Regions from separate parts of the Homo sapiens genome. Here regions 1, 3, 4 and 5 are each linked to region 2. Evidence: promoter capture Hi-C in 16 types of primary human blood cells and fetal thymus (Javierre and others, 2016). All regions are on one chromosome and are shown on one strand. The core of a region is centred on a gene start or on the middle of the fragment in contact, and the rest is flanking DNA. Distances in the headings are between cores, read along the strand shown. Region 1 overlaps FRYL (FRY like transcription coactivator). Region 2 holds the start of OCIAD1-AS1 (OCIAD1 antisense RNA 1). Region 3 overlaps FRYL (FRY like transcription coactivator). Region 4 overlaps FRYL (FRY like transcription coactivator). Region 5 overlaps FRYL (FRY like transcription coactivator).

Region 1 (2,700 bases), core at 27-2,526, 270 kb before region 2:
TTATACATTCTTTCAGTGTATTGCAATTTGCATGTATTTGATTAAATGGGCTAATGGATAATTTTATCTAGCTTTAACTACATGAGCTCTTACAAAAGTCCTTGAAAAGAAAATACAGATCCAAGAAAAGAAAATACAGATCCAAGATAATCCTAACAAAGTAAACCTAATAAATAACAACCACCTCCCCCACAGAAAAAAACCCAGCAGAACTGATTTTTTTTACTCATACCTAGTATGAGAACTTCAGGAAGAAAAAAACTTACTTTCAGAAATAAATTTATTCAATAGAGTGAATATTTTCTTAAAATGGATGTTCAAGAAAATATCTTTTGTTTCATAATTTTTGTTGCTGGAAACCATTTTTGTCGGTAGAAACCAAAAAATATATAAATAAGAGCTTTATTTTTTTCCTGTATTCCAGTGAACTACCTTCTACACCCACTGGGATACATGTACCCCCAACAAGTTAAGTATGTCAGCTATACAAACAATCATGTTTGCCCACTTCCAAAATCTGGAAATAATTATTAAACTATCTTAAAAATATTACAAATGAAAAGCTGCATTATCTTTCCAACTCATTTGTTAACCACATAAACACATACCTTAGGATTTGACTATGTATAGGATCAAGATAGTAATTTAAAATAAATAAGAAAATAAACAGATAACACCTATTTTGCCTTTTTATATCCTCAAATGTAATTAGATTCCAACAAAGAATTAATTTATGAAATATTTTGAAAAATCCTGAAAATCTAATGTCTAAAGAATGAATTAGAGTTTACTAGTGAATAATGAGACCATGGAAGCAGGATATAACATTCACTTTTTTAATGTTGATTTTTTTTGGCATGGGGGAAACAAATTTTTGTTTTTTCTATAACACCTAGAACAGTGCCTGGCACATTTCAGGTGCTCAATAAATGTTGAATGAATGAGATTTATTGAAGAACACCTTAAATATAAACAATGTGAAGTAAAAAAAAAAACAACCAAAAAAAAAAAAACCTGGGCTCATTATAACTTCCAGGAGCCAGCTGAGCTGACTAACCTGATAAAATTTTCCTTTCTTTATTCATTTTTTGAGACAGAGTTTCGCTCTTATTGCCCAGGCTGGAGTGCAATGGCTTGATCTCGACTCACCGCAACCTCTGCCTCCCAGGTTCAAGCGATTCTCCTGCCTCAGCCTCCCTAGTAGCTGGGATTACAGGCATGTGCCACCACTCCCGGCTAATTTTGTATTTTTAGGAGAGATGGGGTTTCTCCATGTTGGGGTCAGGCTGGTCTCAAACTGCCAGCCTCAGGTGATCTGCCAGCCTCAGGTGATCTGCCCGCCTCAGCCTCCCAAAGTGCTGGGATTACAGGCATGAGCCACCGTGCCCGGCCTATTTATTATTTTCTACCACGCTTAAACACCATTATTTCACTCCAGCCTGGGCAACAAGAGCAAAACTCTGTCTCAAACAAACAAACAAACAAACACTATTATTAAACCATTCGGCCAGCTATTAGAAAGGTTAAGTAACTTGTCCTGGATCACAGCTACTATTAGAAGTAGAGCTGGGATTTGAACCTAAGAGTTCTGATTCCAGAAATCATGCTCTTAAAAAAAAAATCTAGGATTTTATATTATTACATTATAATTTTTTTACCTCTGGATTAATGGTGAAAGTTTTAGTAGATTTTCCAACACTGAGAAGATCAAATATTATTTCTTTCATTGCAAAATCCAAGCGTTCCTTAAAAAAAAAAAAATCCTTATAACTTGCTACTATGTGTTAGGTATCATGCTAAGAATTATAAATATAATATACAATGACAACAAGACAGGTTTGTGCCCTTAAAAAGTTCACAGCTGAACAGAAGAAAAATACATATGAATTAAGGTCAAAATACATGATTATAAGTATATTATTTAATTATCAAATGATTTGTTTAATACCCAAACCAACAGAATAAAGTTTTAAACATTCATTCACCAAAATCATATTAAAATCAAAGTGAAAGAATTCCCAGGGTGACAATGAAAGGAAGTCCCAAGACAATAGCCAGGCAGCAGGCCTAGACAGCAGTGAGTTCATACTGGGTCAGGAAGAATGGGGCTCTAGGAAGGAAATCTCCCGGGGGGTGGGGGGAAGTTAACTAATTAGATTAACTGCTGTTTGAAAGGAGTTTTATAATTCTGGTGGAGTGCTGGAGGAAGGTAACTAATTCAAGGGAGTGGGTACAATTCTGGAAAAAAAGAAGAGATTCAACCTAATGTCACAAGTTTTTTGAACACTTGATCTAAAGCACAATTTGCTTTTATTAATCTTACTGATACCCTTATACTTATCGAATTACCATTACTTTTGTACTCTAGTAAATAACAATGTACTAATTCTATTTAAATATTCTTTATTTCTTCACTGTCAAAAATAATTGAATTATGGATCATCTAGATTGTTACAGTTTCAGTTGAAAGAGAATGCAATCAATATTCTGGAATCACAGCATTTTCCCATGTTGACGAGATAACCTTACCTATGTTTCTCCAAGATGGATGTCCCAAAAGGAAATGTGACCAAAACCTTGTATTGGCTCATTAACACCCATTTAATCCCCCTCTAATAATCCTTCCTTTACTGCAGAGGCTAGAAAGCTAAACTTGTACTTCCCAGGATCCCATTTAACAAAAAGCTTGAGGATATAATT
Region 2 (2,700 bases), core at 199-2,698:
TTTCTTGTACATTTGTGAATTTGAAAGAGTTATATGCCAGCTTCTAAGGCATTTCTTAAAGATGAATTTTTAAATCCTGGTTTCTTTTAAGTCTTTTTGGAATAGCTATACATTAGCCAAAGTAAATTTTTTGATACAAGTTTACCTCTAAAGGAAGAGGACATTCGAATAGGGTTTTATAGCTATTTCAGTATAGGGTTTTATGATTTTCTCTTAAGGAATTTCAGAGTATGTGTCATTGTTTCAAGATTTTCTATTTACTACTTTAAAAATGGAAATAATAGGTCTTTGGTACCTTCTTGAAGGTCATATGCCACAAAGAATGCAAAAATACATGAAAGTCCTTAGTATTTGTTGTTATGGTCATTTTTTAGAGCTAATTTTATTTTTAATCATTAGCGGTTGCTTCGTTTGGAGTTCTGTTTTTATAACAATGATAGATAATATCTGCATCATATTATTGATGTAAAAAAAATCTACCTTTGAAATGAATTAGGGATGTACCATACTTTTGAATGTTTGTCATCAAACAACATTTAGCATAAACTGCATCTAGTGGCCATTGCTCTGTAATATGTAAAGACTTGTCGGTACTTTGTCCTGCTAATTAATTTGAGGATTTAGATTGTAAGCTCTGTGAGGGCAGAAAGTAATATTTTTCTCATTTTTGTAATCTTTTCTATTATTGTCTGCATAGCATAGTACTTTACACTGTATCAGAAATTGAGTATTTTGGTTTAGGCTTCTATGGTAATAGAGGTTAAGAAAGGAAATTTGGTAGACCTTTAACATTTGCTGGATTTTGACATTTTTGATTTTTGACTGAAGTCTTCAAGTTCTGTTACATGACACAAGAATGTGAAATGATTTTTTCTTTTTTTGGGAAAAGCTGGTTTTTTGTGTGCTTTATATAATTTAAAGAAAAGACTTGTTATGAAATAGTTTCAGTCATTTTCTGAATTATTGTTGAAATTAGTACAGGGTAGATTCACATGGTCAGAAAGTGTCACTTAAAGTTTTCACCTTTAGCTTATGTGGTTGATATTTATCTAATTAGAAATTAAGACCCAGAAATTTAAAAAATTCAAGCACATATTCCATTAGCTGCCAGAGCAATGTCACCACACATCCTGTAGCTTCTAGAAAACCATGTAACATATACTCATGAGGGAATGAGAGCAAGGGGAAAAGGCAAAATGTGAAACATAAGGATATATAATGTCTTAGTATAATAATGAAATAATTTTGACTTCATGTATTCCCTGAAGAGTCCACACTGTGATAACTGCTGCTTTATATTGTTATGATTACTCACAGACAGAAGCTATGTGGAAGAGAAGCAAAAAAGTAAAGGAGTAGAATAGACAGCGGAGCATGTTTTAAAATGTAAAATATAGAGTACCTGTAAAATGTAGTAGTATTTTCTTCTTATAGTAGTATTTACAGCCCTGAGAGAGAAGATTGAATTAATTACAACTTGAACACTTGACCATTTCTACTGCTGTATTTTTTGTGAAAAACGAAAATTCAAATGTTTGTTTTATTATTTCCCACTATTTTTTTTTTTTTTTGTATATGGCTTAATATGTGCCACACTTAGGTAGTATGGTAAAGATGTAAAGGTACCTAGGCTTTGGATCTAAACAGACCTATACTCAAATCTCAGTTCTTGTTAGGGCTTGTACCTTGGGCAAGTTACTAATCTTTTTTCTCACCATTAAAATGAGAATTGTGTTTAGAAGTTTGTTATGAGGACTAACTATTTATGTAAAATTCTAGATACAATGCATTTGTCCAACCCCAAGTTCACAAAAGTCTGGTCATCCCCTTTTTGTAATTATAATTTGACTCTCATGTGCTTTTATTCAAATGAGAGAGAAACATAACTTTTCATCATAGCAACAAACTTAAAATAATGTCTTTTACTTATTATTGCTTGGAATCATCAATTATTTATGCTTTTTTCCTAGTCAAAGTAAACAAGTATGGAGATACTTGGGATGAGTGAAAAATTACATCATTGGACATGAAGGAGTTTCAACATCCAGCTTCATCTAGGTGGTCATGATTACCTGCATGCTTTGAGCTCAGCAGCAGTCTTCATAAACACATTTAAAACAAGATCCTGGGTTTTTGTGGTTTGACTTCTATGGTGTTTTAAAAAAACACAGATTTTTAGTGTTAATATTGTGTAAATGTACTCACCTTAGGGATTCATTTGAATGATGGTATTATACCATGATTGTATACAGTTTGTGAAATTGTTGCAAGGGCAAAGATAACTCTTAAAAAACCGTCGAGATTACAATGCTCTAGAATCAGCATATAAGAAAATAAATGATATCTGCATGTTGAATTGGGGTGGATGGGGGGAGCAAGCATAATTTTTAAGTGTGAAGCTTTGCATCAAGAAATTATTAAAAAGCTTTTTTTCTCCAGTATTTTCTGTATTATCTTAATGTTTATGGCAAATAAAATGTAAAGGAACATGCAACAGCCCTCATCTTCCTTGATTTTATGGTTTTATTGTTTGTAATTTATTGATTTATTTTTAAGCTAGTTATAATCATGTAGGTATAGGAAATAAAGTCATCTATAATATTTCTATAATATGGCTATAATATGGCTATAAATCTATAATATGGCTGGAGGCAGTGGGCAGTGGTTCATGCCTGTAATCCCAGCACTTTGGGAGGCCGA
Region 3 (2,700 bases), core at 128-2,627, 310 kb before region 2:
TCTCAATAAAAAAAAAAAAAGGACACAGTACACAAAATACTAACAAAAGTTTACTATGACGTACATTAATTTCCACCTTATAATCCAAAAGCTTAAACTTTTAATCAATTATTTCTACCTAAAATAATATTCTGGCATACAAAACAGGTGGAGTAAATACCATTTATATAGGTCTAAAACTTTAAGCAATACAAAAAGTGACTTACCATATACCACCTATTTATACATTAGAGCATATAAAAAAATCTAGCAGGCTAGCATCTTTAATGTTGAAACTCTCAATGTGGAAAGTTTCCAGCATGGAAATATATTTTTTTCACTCGAATTTTAACACAGCAACATCCACATTTCAATGCAGAAAATATCATTTATTCTGATGACAACCAGTATCTGTCAAACTGAAAGGCTAATACAGAACAGAGAAGTACTTACCTCTCTTCAATATTCTCTTTAATGGGCTTATTATCAGGATTGCCATCTGTGGGAGCTACCATTGTATTGCTACTGGAAGTAGTTCCTGTAATCAAAGACAAAGCAGTACTCGTGAATCTACAAACCTGGAATAACCCAATAAGAACAAAAGATCTCAAATTATAGATATCAAAACTTAACTAAAATGAGAGCAAAGTCATTTAAAAAAAGGAATGTACTCATAATGACCAAAAGGGAAAGGACATAAGACAAACAAATTTTTGGATGCTAGAATACAAATGGACAGTAAGTAATTAAGTGTTAAGAAGGCTGAATCCAAAGGTGGTGGTGGGTGAAAACCAAGAAGCTTCCATGTTTATATTGCTGAACTTCCAAAAGGTAGCATCGAGAACCTCTGGAAACAGGGGTTGAAGGTGGTGCGAAAAAATAGGAAACCTGGCTGAAAGTCAATCTATTTTAGAAGTAACTGGTTCCCCAAATCTACTTTCTTGCCTCTTGCAGCTGGGTGGCTGTCTTTCCCCACTTCTAGAAGTCTTTTCTGATGAGAGTAAATCAGAAGATTCCTGAACTAGGGCACGCCATGTACTCCTGAAAGAGGAGGCACCTTACAAAGAACAGGGGCATTAAATGAAAATGCACATGCTAAAATTTGAGACTGCACCCCCCCCAACATCCTTCTTACCCCACTGGGCTTCCAGAAAGTTTGAAGCCTGTGTATATGTGTGTGTATAAATATAAACAGTCCAAAGGGGTGTGTGTGTGTGTGTGTGTGTGTGTGTGTGTGTGTGTGTTCAGACACACCCTCTGCAGGCAAATGACTAGAAAGAGTTTTCTCTAGGGAATCTGATAAATCTAGGAGAAAAGACCTACAGACGTTGGCATCACTGAAATCATGGTACGACAAAGCACACAGACAACAAGTTCCATATATACTTATAGAACTTATATTTTTTTTAATATTCTACTCTTTATGAAAAGACAGATCTAGAATTGGTAGGCTTTTGAGAAAAGTTTTATCAACACAAAACAGCAATGTAGAGAAAATGAGGACTTCTGCTGGGAGAAAACTTTATAACTGTATTGGATACGAAACAACAGTCCAACTATGAAACATGAATAGGATGCTACTTTAAAAAATTATAATTAAATGAAACTTTAGAATTAAAAACATTCTAGCCGATATGAAAAATTCAATAGAAGCATTATTAGACATCTCCTGGAAAATAAAACAAAAGGACTAGGTGATGAAAATGGATGGTAAAAAATAAATTATAAAGAGATAATTTAAAATATTTCTAGTTTTACAGATAATGTTATTAGCATGCTGAAAACATTTAAAGTAAACTGAGTAACAAAGAGTTTAACAGAAATTTCATCTACAATAGCCTTTTTACTATTTTGAATTTCATTGGATGTTCTTCTATTAGGAACATAGTTTCTTCATACTCAAAATATTACAATAATTTTAATATATGCACATACATATAGGTGTGTATATATATATACATTTAAAGACACAATAAACTCTTGTTTAACAATTATGTTAAGCTTCTCTTTCAATACTGAGGAAGATTTGTTTTTTTCTTTTAATAAATTTTATTGTATATATCTGAGATTCATAACATGTTATGGGACATAGAGACCCTAAAATGGTTACCATAGTGAAGCAGATGAAGATGTCTATCATCTCACACAGCAATCGGTTTTAACAAATTTCTCACCTGAGGTGACAGAAGGGATTTTATAGCTGGAAGTGATGCGATAATACGGGGGATTATCCATGTGAGTGACCCCTGAACTGACAGGATCGGTCAGCTGAAGCTCACTCACCAGCTCTTCTAGCAACTGCATTGTTTTATCTCTACCTAAATATACAATGACCTTCTTCACCTGTCACAAAAGAAATCGTTCAGAAAAGAAAAAGCAAAGTTTTTATCTCATTAATTTCTCCTGAGACAAACTTTATCAGAGTAAGTTCAACTTTAAGTGGTAGATGAATAAACACAATCTAAATCAAAATTAGCACTGATCAACAATAAGACATTAATCAGCTTTATCAATACTGTCCTCCCTCTAACTCTCAGCATTAGATCTAATTAGGGTGAACTGAGTATGTTTAGCGGTTTAGTGGTTTCCACTTTATGCACTTTCTTTACTTTAAAAAAAAAAAAAAAAAAAAACAAAAAAATACTTTTCTGTAAAAATTTCTCTTTTAATGGAAACACAGGTAATAACATCCTAAGATTTTCCTCTGATTTTTAGTTAGCC
Region 4 (2,700 bases), core at 201-2,700, 330 kb before region 2:
ATATCAGTATGCACAGCATAGAGTTTGGATGCATATTCTTGCAACTTTTATTTTTAAAGGTATATATATATATATATATATATATATATATATACACACACTTGGATGTGATGTAAAATGTATTAACTGTGGATTAGTGTCAAAAAAAAGTTTAAAAGCTACTGCTCTGAAAGGTGCTAAATAATACCTGTTCTTGAGTTCCTATGAACCTGTACAATTGTGTCTTTGGGAAAATGTAAATGGTGGAGTATTCCATAGGAGCCTACACAGCTCCTAAACTGACATGAAGGCATTTGCATTACTTGGAGGCACCATGGTCACATCCTCACATCTGCAGGGGGCACTGAGGCATGTTGAGGAGAGGGAACTTTACTTCCTCAAACTGGTCTTCCATGGACAATGAACAGTGTGATACGGGAGAGTGCATTACATTTCATTCCTCCGCCTCACCTATTAGAGCCAAAGGAAACACCCCTACAAGAAGAGCTGATGAATGTGTATAAGCTGTATATGAGTTGTATATGTATATGTACATGAGAGTTGATCAGTGTGTATGATCTGTATGAGTTGTATATGTATATGTATACGAGAGCTGATGAATGTGTATGAGCTGTATATGAGTTGTATATGTATATGTACATGAGAGTTGATGGATGTGTATGATCTGTATGAGTTGTATATGTATACGAGAGCTGATGAATGTGTATGAGCTGTATATGAGTAGTATATGTACATGAGAGTTGATGAATGTGTATGAGCTGTATATGAGTAGTATATGTATATATGTACATGAGTTGATGAATGTGTATGAGCTGTATATGAGTAGTATATGTATATGTACATGAGAGTTGATGAATGTGTATGAGCTGTATATGAGTTGTATATGTGTATGTATATGAGAGCTGATGAATGTGTATGAGCTGTATATTAGTAGTACATGTATATGTACATGAGAGTTGATGAATGTGTATGAGCTGTATATGAGTTGTATATGTGTATGTATATGAGCTGATGAATGTGTATGAGCTGTATATGAATAGTATATGTATATGTATATGAGAGCTAAATGTATTTGAGCTATGAGTTTTGATTCTTTAGAAAAAGATACATCAAGATATGGTATACAGATACTTGGTATTAAGGCATTTTGGTCTTCTTGCATACAGATATTTGTAGCAATTTCAAAATGTACATGTTTAAAACAAATCTATTTGATATAAACTTTCAGGGTTAAGAGACTGTGGTTTAGGGAACTGAGCTCAGCTACAGAAATGGATCTCTAATAGCCTAAGACAACCAGGGTAATCCTATTCTATTCACTAGAGTGGTTGTTTCAGAAAGTAGCATGTGTCCTAATTTGGGCCAATGAGATGTTACAAGAAGTTTGCTAAGACCATTTAGGAAAGCAGCTTCCTTACTTTTCTGAGAGCATTTCTGGATGTGACCCTCACCTCCTTCAAACACTGCTGTGTGTGGGGCTAAGATTACCCAGCAATGAAGACGGTTTTGCTGCTATCTGAGGTCAAGCTGACTGGCAGAGAAGGGGAGAGCCTAGAGAACTGCAGATAAACAGCCAGAAACTTCATTGAGCCATATCTAAATATAAGCTCTAATTCTGGACTAGTTTTGTGGGCTAATAAATCTACTTTCTGAGTTTTAAATTCCATTTAGAAAGCATCTCAACTGACATAACTACCAATATAATGTAATCCAGACTAAATCAATTTAGAAGAGAAACGCTTTGAGTATTAAATGAAACCAGGCATTTGAGAGAGTTACCTACATCATAAAGAAGAAAGTGATTTCGAATGTCAAAGAAAGAAGCTCAGTCATTTGCCAAAGGGAAGAGTTCTAGAAAGACAAACCCTTTGTGATATGTCAATTTAGTGGTAAGTGTGTATATGAGTAGTATATGTATATGTACATGAGAATTGATGAATGTGTATGAGCTGTATATGAGTAGTATATGTATATGTACATGAGAGTTGATGAATGTGCAATTTAGTGGTAAGTGCAACTCTCTTTAAAGTTGTCCTTAATCAATTCTCATATAAATTTTTACCATTTGGCTGCATATTAGTTTGTAAGACAAATCATGCAAAACATTTAAGTCTAAGCATACCCTGAAAATAATTTTGAAGGAAGCCATTTTTTAATTTTATATTTTTAAAGATAAAGATGAAAAATGGAATGTTTCTCTTTTATCTCAGACTTATTCTATTGACTAATTGTGGTAATCAAATTTAATTCCTAATTTAGATTTTTACCTTTTTGACCTTACACTGACCTCAATAAGGAATGATCCTGTGATCAAATCCTTAATTCTCATACAACTGTTCTATAAATATTAACAGAGAAAGCCCACATCCTTACCTCTGCATCTTCCAATTCAACATCTAAAAAGTCAAAATCCTTAAAAACACCAAACTGTTGTTCACTGCTATTATCTTCCACAGCTACTTCTTCCTCTTGATTTATGTCTTCTGTTGTAGAAATTAGGCTAGTCTGTTGGTCACCGACTTCCAAATCCTCATTAGAAGAAAATACAACCTGATGCCCGATTAAAAAAAAAAAAAAAGTCCATCCATCAGATTTGTCACTCTGCGTATGAGGTATCAGTACCCCAAAGCCACCGCAGGCCTCATTCTTCAATGAATTCACAGCTTAAATTTGGTCTTCATGTTTAACTAGTTGAACACA
Region 5 (2,700 bases), core at 71-2,570, 350 kb before region 2:
TTTATACACTTAATTATGCCTTATCTTGTCCAGTTTGTCCAAGTATACTAATAAATTTGAAAATAATTTCAGTTGATTATTTATTTAATGGCTTATTTTTATACTGTGTACCTAATGATACAGCCTTTTGGGGGGCACTATTCAAAATATTGCTGATTTTTATTCTGTTAAAAGACAAACCCCAACCATATAGTCCTGTGGCTGCACACTGGCCTGAGAGATACAGGTCCACACCTTTCCAGCCAGAGCATACAAGACATGGTAGTTTGTGCTCAGAACACCCTCCAGTTCACATCTAATCAATCAGTCTTCCTGTCACGGCATTTTCTTTATTCAAGGTTCAAATGAAGGTTAAAATTTTTAACTGTCGAGGTTCTACTTCTGGGTGTGATGGAGTAGCCTGTATAAAAGAAAGAAAGACCAATCCTGCAAGGACAATGATGGAAGCTGAATCCTATCGGCCAAAACTCACTCAAACAAACAGTTAGTTAGTTAGAGAAAAGTACCGGAGTGAGCCCAATACCCGCCCCAGTGCTTACTCTACTCTAGGTGTATTCATATTCACGTCCCTGCGCATAGAGGCTGAACAGAAAGCAGTGGCCTAGAGTTTATGCCCTACAGTTTCACTGGGCTGGGAAAACAGTTTTCAAAGATAGATAGATGATAGATAGATAGATAGATAGATCGTGAGATATTGAGGGCCAATATCCTGGAGAAAAGAGAACTGCAGAGAAGTGACCCCAATAGTCTCTGTGCAGTCTCGCCTTAGAACACTTGCTGTTCCTGTTTATTATCTGCAGGGGGAGAGGCTACAAAACCACACAGCAGCCCCTGGGAGACTGAGAAGGTCGGCAGAGACCGCTGGTCTCACATTGCTGGGGAGAGAAAAATAATTCAATTCACCTGTGAGCCTTAGCAGTCTTGAATAATAATAAAAAGAATGTATAACTCAAAAATGAATGGGAAAATTAAATAGGGCAGACAGTAAATATTTTAGGCTTTGCAAAACATATAGTCTTTGTAACTATTTAATTGTTACAGTGCAAACATAGCCATGGACAATATGTAAGTAAACCAGATAGCTGTTTTCTACTAATTTTATTTACAAAAATAGGCAGTGGGCCAGATATAACTTGACAGCTGTAGTTTGCTAACCTGTGTTCAAGAAGTTTGTAAGCATTATTAGTTGTTTGAATTTCCATATAAATTTTAGAATCAGCTTGTCAATTTCCATTAATATACCATCTGAGATTTTGAATGAGACTGCATTAAACCTATAGACCATTTTGGGGGAAAATGACATCTTTACCATATTGAGTCTTCTAATTGATAAACATGGTATATAGTCCTCCATTTAGGTGGTCTTTAATTTTTCTCAATATTTGCAGTTTTCTGTATAGAGGTACAGCATATCTTTAGACAGATTTATTTGTAGGTATTTGATATTTTCCTATTATAAATGGTATCTATTGCTTTAAAACCAACCACCCTAAAACTTAATGGCTTCAAACAACCAAAATGAATCTATGTGCTGGCTGGGAGTTTCTTCTGGTCTTGCCTAGGGTCACTCATGAGTCTACAGTCATTGATGGCTTGACTGGGGAAGCGGCAGGGTTGAAGTTCCAAGTTGGCTTCACTCATATGTCTTGCACACTGACTGTCAATGGAACGCCTCTGTTCTCCCCTACATGGCCTCATCTTCCAGCAGGCTAGAGGTCAAATAGTTTCCCAGAGTTTACCCCAGTTTGCACTCCGACCAGTATGATGGCAAAAGCAGACACCACAAAAGACCACTTCAGGACTAGTCTTGGAAGTTACACAGCGTTGCTTCTGAACTTGATTGGTTAGAGCAAATCACAAGGCCATCCCAAATTTAAGAGATGGTGAAATGGACTCTGTCTCTTCATGGGAAGAACAGCAAAGTCACATTGCAAAGGGGTGTGGCGACAAGAGAAGCATGATTCATTGGGACCAGTATTTTAACAATCTACCTTTGCTTCTAGTAGGCAATGATTTCTGAAGATACAAAAACCATAACCATGATGGAAAAGGCTGATAACCTGGACTTATTAAAATTAAAAACTTCTGTTCATCAAAAAATGCTACTAAGATAGCAAAACTGCTAGCTACAGAGAAGGAATAATCTTCGCAATACATACATCCAAAAAAGGGCTTGCATTTAGGATAAAGAGCCCCTACAAATCAGTAAGAAAAACCCAATCGATTTACAAAAATGAGCAATGTACTTGAAGCTACAATTCACAAAATATCTTAAATGAAGAGATCCATTTGAAAAGGGGCTCAAATATTAGTCATCAGGGAAATGCAAAATAGTACCATGAGATACCACCACACACTTCATTTTTCATAGGTCTATACATGTCACAGATATTTACTACTTATTAATGAAAGACCCATCTAGAAAAATAATTACCTACTGTATGCAGTTTGTGTGAAAGAGAGAAATTATTTTTTGTTCTTCTGTCCCTCCCAATTGAAAATGTGCTGGATTTACTCTTAGGGAAGGAACAGAGCTACTCTGTTTTCAATGCCAGATTGGACTTGAAGAAGCCTTTCTTAGGAGGTAATTGTCTAATTCACTACATGCTTTTTTCTCCCACTGCTTGCCCATGTACATGTACACATCATGGGAAAAAGATTACAGCTTTGTCAGAGGTTGTGGATTTCCTAGACCACAAT

Evidence for each region. Contacts are between HindIII fragments. The CHiCAGO score rates a contact against its expected background, and 5 or more counts as called.
Region 1: a fragment that was not itself captured here is called in contact with the fragment with the promoter of OCIAD1-AS1 in region 2 in 3 of 17 cell types (activated CD4 T cells, non-activated CD4 T cells and naive CD4 T cells); the score reaches 5.6 in activated CD4 T cells.
Region 3: a contact is called between a fragment that was not itself captured here and the fragment with the promoter of OCIAD1-AS1 in region 2, in 14 of 17 cell types (naive CD4 T cells, erythroblasts, endothelial precursors and 11 more). The highest score is 8.3, in naive CD4 T cells.
Region 4: a fragment that was not itself captured here is called in contact with the fragment with the promoter of OCIAD1-AS1 in region 2 in 2 of 17 cell types (naive CD4 T cells and total CD4 T cells); the score reaches 6.0 in naive CD4 T cells.
Region 5: a fragment that was not itself captured here is called in contact with the fragment with the promoter of OCIAD1-AS1 in region 2 in 4 of 17 cell types (naive CD4 T cells, activated CD4 T cells, M2 macrophages and 1 more); the score reaches 5.7 in naive CD4 T cells.

What each region holds. Positions count from the first base shown.
Region 1 is chr4:48,592,272-48,594,971 of GRCh38, forward strand. FRYL (FRY like transcription coactivator) reads right to left here. Exons shown (of 64, transcript NM_015030.2): 16 at 1,659-1,745. Among named protein-coding and RNA genes, the nearest start is that of ZAR1, 100 kb to the left of the region's middle. The HindIII fragment of the contact is 2,813 bases long and covers 1-2,683 here.
Region 2 is chr4:48,858,755-48,861,454 of GRCh38, forward strand. It overlaps OCIAD1-AS1 (OCIAD1 antisense RNA 1), which reads right to left and starts at 1,449. Exons shown (of 2, transcript NR_146806.1): 1 at 1,403-1,449. It overlaps OCIAD1 (OCIA domain containing 1), which reads left to right. Exons shown (of 9, transcript NM_017830.4): 9 at 1,971-2,700. The coding sequence ends at 2,008. The HindIII fragment of the contact is 4,141 bases long and covers 1-2,397 here.
Region 3 is chr4:48,551,062-48,553,761 of GRCh38, forward strand. It overlaps FRYL (FRY like transcription coactivator), which reads right to left. Exons shown (of 64, transcript NM_015030.2): 36 at 2,154-2,322; 37 at 433-517. Among named protein-coding and RNA genes, the nearest start is that of ZAR1, 62 kb to the left of the region's middle. The HindIII fragment of the contact is 1,202 bases long and covers 777-1,978 here.
Region 4 is chr4:48,525,104-48,527,803 of GRCh38, forward strand. FRYL (FRY like transcription coactivator) reads right to left here. Exons shown (of 64, transcript NM_015030.2): 53 at 2,374-2,550. Among named protein-coding and RNA genes, the nearest start is that of ZAR1, 36 kb to the left of the region's middle. The HindIII fragment of the contact is 5,857 bases long and covers 1-2,700 here.
Region 5 is chr4:48,507,054-48,509,753 of GRCh38, forward strand. All of the region lies in intron 59 of FRYL (FRY like transcription coactivator), which reads right to left. Among named protein-coding and RNA genes, the nearest start is that of ZAR1, 18 kb to the left of the region's middle. The HindIII fragment of the contact is 2,913 bases long and covers 1-2,700 here.